Linked DNA regions of Homo sapiens: region 1 is linked to region 2. Evidence: promoter capture Hi-C in 16 types of primary human blood cells and fetal thymus (Javierre and others, 2016). All regions are on one chromosome and are shown on one strand. Each heading gives the region's core, a stretch centred on a gene start or on the middle of the fragment in contact. The rest is flanking DNA. Distances are from core to core; before and after follow the strand shown. Region 1 overlaps EIF3A (eukaryotic translation initiation factor 3 subunit A). Region 2 holds the start of BAG3 (BAG cochaperone 3).

Evidence for each region. The method cuts DNA at HindIII sites, captures the fragments that hold promoters and counts their contacts. A CHiCAGO score of 5 or more calls a contact.
Region 1: a fragment that was not itself captured here is called in contact with the fragment with the promoter of BAG3 in region 2 in 1 of 17 cell types (naive CD8 T cells); the score reaches 5.9 in naive CD8 T cells.

The regions. Positions count from the first base shown.
Region 1 is chr10:119,045,227-119,047,926 of GRCh38, forward strand. The region is part of intron 17 of EIF3A (eukaryotic translation initiation factor 3 subunit A); the gene reads right to left. Among named protein-coding and RNA genes, the nearest start is that of SNORA19, 14 kb to the right of the region's middle. The HindIII fragment of the contact is 2,067 bases long and covers 281-2,347 here.
Region 2 is chr10:119,649,986-119,652,751 of GRCh38, forward strand. It overlaps BAG3 (BAG cochaperone 3), which reads left to right and starts at 1,395. Exons shown (of 4, transcript NM_004281.4): 1 at 1,395-1,870. The coding sequence starts at 1,691. RefSeq lists enhancers at 533-1,487, 868-947 and a silencer at 1,148-1,447. The HindIII fragment of the contact is 5,264 bases long and covers 1-2,332 here.

The DNA of each region.
Region 1 (2,700 bases), core at 64-2,563, 600 kb before region 2:
GAGCCACCACGCCTGCCCCTTTATTTGAATTTTTGAAAAAAATGTCTTGGCAATGAAACTCTAAAATAACAACTAGAGATGAGAAGCAGTGAAAGACAAGAATGGTCAGAAAATAAATTCGTCCCGGGTCATCACAGCTAATGATTCTGGGCTGTCTCTTAAGGTGGGGGTTGTTCTAAGAGACTTTCCCAAGTAAACACCTTGAGAGAAAATAGAAACATAACAGTCAAAGGAATTTATGGGCAACACAATTGAGGGAACAAATACAGCCAGAAGGCCAAGCTTCTCCCACCCCCATGCCTGCTTTGCAATTTATACTCAACAAAGAATGCAAGGTTTTAGAGGATATAGTACAACTATTACAACCTCCAAAGACTTTTGAAGGATGGCTCTTATAGCCATTAAACAAACAAAAAGAAGTAACTCTGCCTCCTGGGCTCAAGCCATACTCCCTCCCACCTCAGTTTCCCAAGTAGCTGGGCATGCACCACCACGCCCAGCTCATTTTTGTATTTTTTGTGGAGACAGGGTCTCACTATGTTGCCAGACTGGTCTCAAGCTCCCAGGCTCAAGCGATCCGCTTGCCTGCCTCGGTCTCCCAAAGTGCTGAGATTATAGGCGTGAACCAATGTGCCCGGCCCAGCAGATCCAAGAGCAGAATGGCCCTGGCTGATGAGCAAACAAACTGAACCACGATCTCAGAGAACCTGGTACAAACAAACAAAGAGATGAAGAGAGTAAAAGAAACATTAAAGATATAAAGAGAACTTTAACAGAGCAAGAACAGAGAAAAAGGAGAAAAGTTTCCTTAAATTAAGTAGATTTTTGTCTGCTCTAAGGAGACTGAATCCTTAGACCAAAAGGGCAAAAGGCCAAAAAGAAACAAAGATACCATACACTCAGGTATCTAAACACAGTCTTAGGGACAGTTTTAACTTCCTTTACCGCAAGAATAGAGAAAAATTCTGTTTCCGAGGAATGAAACAGTATCTACAGAGTAAGACCAAAATCCTCCCCTCTGTAACACTGTGTACTAAAAACAGAAGCAAAGGTCTCTATTATTTCTGAAAAGATGATTTTGAACTGGCCAAATAATGAACCATTTATTGTTCAACGGTGAGAGAAAAAACTTATGAGACACACAAAGACATTCTGAAAACTACTGATCAAGAAACAAAAAGTACTCACAAAGGGGAAAACATGATGCAGTGTAAACATACTTGAGACTAAATAATGTTCGCTAATATGGATGGAAAACTTAAAGTAACTGTTAAGTGAGTACTAAGAGGAAAGATAATGTGTAAATATCTAGAAGCAAAAATACCCAGTCCACTGCAATAAAATATAAGTTAAGGTATGGTCATGATTTTGTTTTGTTCTGAAGAGGCAAAGGAAAGTTGTAATTTATACTGTGGAAGTTTTTTTAAAAACTTAGGAAAAAATTAATGGTGGCCAGGCACAGTGGCTCATGCCTGTAATCTCAGCACTTTGGGAGGTTGAGGTGGGTGGATCACCTGAGGTCAGGAGTTCAAGACCAGCCTGGCCAACATGGTTAAATTCATCTCTACTAAAAATACAAAATTAGCCGGGCATGGTGGCACATGCCTGTAATCCCACCTACTTGGGAGGCTGAGGCAGGAGAATCACTTGAACCTGGAAGGTGGAGGCTGCAGTGGGCCGAGATCTCGCCATTGCACTCCAGCCCGGGCAAAAAGGGCAAAAAAATTAATGGAATAGAGAAAATAAAAGTGAACCTAAAGGCCAGGCATAGTGGCTCACGCCTGTAATCCCAGCACTGTGAGAGGCTGAGGTGAGTGGACCACGAGGTCAGGAGTTCAAGACCAGCCAGGCCAACATAGTGAAAAATCCCATCTCTACTAAAAATACAAACATTAGCCAGGCGTGGTGGCACACGCCAGTAATCCCAGCTACTCAGGAGGCTGAGGCAGGAGAATTGCTTGAAACTGGGAGGCGGAGGTTGCAGTGAGCTGAGATTGCACCACTGCACTCCAGCCTGGGCAACAGAGCGAGACTGTCTCCACACACACACACACACAAAAAGAACCTAGAAAAGTTCTTCAAATTTGGCTTAAAGAAAAAGGAAGGGGTGCCAGGGACATAGAAGCAAATAAAAAGCTCCAAAGCAAGTGTTAGGAATAAAACCAAATATACTAGTTACCATGTTAAATGCAAGTAAATTAAACTAAACTCTCCCAAAAAAAAGGGAAGGTGTGTGTGGGCAAGGGGGTGAGGCATAAAACAGAAACAAGAGGCTGAAAATGTACAAAAGGGTGGACAGACACATTTGCAAATGCTAACTAAAAGAAAAGGATAATCTCAGAAGGTAAGCTTCCTCATGTTCCTAAGGAGACAGTCCCATAAACTAACAAGATGTAGCAGATTTAAACAAAACAGCGCTGATTTCATGCACACACACAACTTTGTGCTCAACAGAAAAAAACATTCATAGAACACAAGGGAAAATGTATTCTTAAATTCCAAAAACTTGTAAATCATACAGACCACATTTACTTAATACCAAGGAATTAGAACTACAAATTAGCAGTAAGAATAACACAAACTGAAGACACATAAATAACTAGTATCAAGTGTAGGCATACAGATAAGCATTTGATACAGGTGTGGCAAAAATAGAGGAGCAGAGAAAAGGCATGCAAGATATCCTTGAGCTTTCTGAGT
Region 2 (2,766 bases), core at 145-2,644:
CATGTTAAGGGTCAACTGTACAGTAATCTGAAGTATGTAACCTGATGTTACATTTCTCTCAATCATTTCTCTCTTTCTTTCTCTCTCTTTCTTTTAAAGAGATAGGGTCTTGCTCTGTCGCTTAGGTTGGCATGAAGAGCAAAATCATAGCTCATGGCAGCTTCAAACTCCTGGGCTCAAATGAGCCTCCCACCTCAGCCTCCTGAGTAGCTGGGACTACAGGCATAAGCCACTGCACCTGGCTTATTTTTTGTTTATGCAGAGATGGGGGTCTTACTGTGTTGTCCAGGCTGGTCTCAAACTCCTGGACTCAAGAGGTCCTCCAGTCTTGACTTTCCAAAGTGCTGGCATTATAGGCATGAGCCATGGTGGCAAGCCCTCATCAGTTATTTTTCTATGATTCTGTCTCTCTGTCCCCTCCTTACAAGGAAAGTAATTTTGAAACAACCAATCCAGTCTTGGTTCTTTGTTTCTGCTTTCTTCAGCCCTTCTCTGTCTATAAAACCAACCTCTTCTGCTCAGCTCATGGGAGCACTTATTCTAATTTAATGGAGATGTTGCCCAATTTCTAGAATCACAAATAAGATCTTTAACAATAAAAGTTAAAAAATGAAAATCAACAACAACAACAACAAAAAAGATCTTTAAATGTGTTGTAATTTTCTCCTTTGACAGGTTACAAGTGCAATTGAATAAACCAAACAAAAAATGTCATGGTTATTCGGTCTTTACTTCCCAAATCAGGGTCAAGATATAAGATAGCAAGAACCAATCTCTACCATAAAAAAGATCCAGACCCAAGAAAATGTGATTTATCTTTAAAGCTGCAACGAAACTTTCTTTTTAGTCTAGGAGACTAAAAGCCATCAGTTGATACAATCTCTTTTTTTCTTGAAGTTTCCAAAGGAAGGCAGGTGAGTTTGCACTGACTTCCATTTTCTCCCTGGCTTCCTTCCGGTGTCAGATGAGAGTCCCCGCGCTCCTCCCGGACAGCCCTCAGGGTCCTCGGCTATCATATATGGGGGAGGGGGTGGAGGTGGGCGAGATGGTTTTGTTTGTACAGGAAGGACGGGCGGCAGGCACGGGGAGCACGGGCTCCGGCCCCGGGAACACTCACTCGGCGCAAAGGAGAGGGAGAGAGCGACTATGAAAGCCGAAACCCGCCCGGGGCGCACGGAGGACGGCCCCAGTCCAGCTCGTCCGGCTTCCCACCCGCAGGCGGACCCCGAAGCCGCGCCCGCGCCCGCCCGCGGCGACTCCGGCCCGGGCACGCGCACGAGTCGGAAGGGGGAGGGGCGGGAGGAGGTGGGGGAGGGGCGAGCGGGCCGAGGCCCCGCCCCCGCTCCTCTGCCCCGCCCGCCGCGATTATAGCCGATGACTCAGGGCGGAGCTCCGCATCCAACCCCGGGCCGCGGCCAACTTCTCTGGACTGGACCAGAAGTTTCTAGCCGGCCAGTTGCTACCTCCCTTTATCTCCTCCTTCCCCTCTGGCAGCGAGGAGGCTATTTCCAGACACTTCCACCCCTCTCTGGCCACGTCACCCCCGCCTTTAATTCATAAAGGTGCCCGGCGCCGGCTTCCCGGACACGTCGGCGGCGGAGAGGGGCCCACGGCGGCGGCCCGGCCAGAGACTCGGCGCCCGGAGCCAGCGCCCCGCACCCGCGCCCCAGCGGGCAGACCCCAACCCAGCATGAGCGCCGCCACCCACTCGCCCATGATGCAGGTGGCGTCCGGCAACGGTGACCGCGACCCTTTGCCCCCCGGATGGGAGATCAAGATCGACCCGCAGACCGGCTGGCCCTTCTTCGTGGACCACAACAGCCGCACCACTACGTGGAACGACCCGCGCGTGCCCTCTGAGGGCCCCAAGGTGAGCCGGGCCCGCGGCCCGCCCTGGTCGGTGGCGCCACCTCGACGGCAGGCGGCGGGGAGTGGGCTGGGCCGGGGGGACGCGAGGCGGCGGGGCCCGGGGGTCGGCGAAGGCCCCTCGCGGGCGGACACCGGCTCCGCGCCCCGCCACACACTCCCGCTGCGCCCGGACGAGTCCCCGCTCCGGACCCGCCCTTGACAGGCGTCGGGGCGAAAGGAGGCCCCGGGATTCGGTGGCCCGGGAAGCGACCCCGCAGTGGCTCCGGTGCCGTCCACGGCTCGACTCCAGGGCGGAAGGCCGGGTGTCCAGCGCTGGCCTCGCGCTCTAGGGCTGGGAGAGGGGCGGCCGGCCTGGTCAGCTCCGGAGGCCCCGGCCCACCGTGGCCCCTGCTGCCCGCTCGGCCTCCGGGCCCGGGACCCGCGGCGCACCCTGCTGACCGCGGACTCGAGGGGGACACTCGCAAGCTTGGATGGTGGTTTTGGGGGGAATTTTACCGCTCAAGTTCTCCAACTTGGTTGAGGGGTATCTTGGCTACTGTCCCATGTTAGGCACCCAATGACTCTGGAGGCTGGTGTCAAAACATTCATATATATATGTGTGTGTGTGTATTTTAAATTAAAATTGTATTATTGTTTGAAAGTGCTTTCAATATGAACGTATCCTAGTATGATTTGTAAAATAAAAAACAGGGTGTGCTTCTCCCCAGCAGTTTCTAGAGATCTAGACTAGAGATCTGAGACTGTCTTACAGTTGGCCATTGCCTTACCACATTGCCTCACACTGGAGAGAAAGAGAATGATACGTGTATATTTATAATGGCATTCGCTTCCTGCCTTGTTATGGTATTAAAATACTTAGGATTTGTTACCAGTACACAAATAACTGACTAATGATAC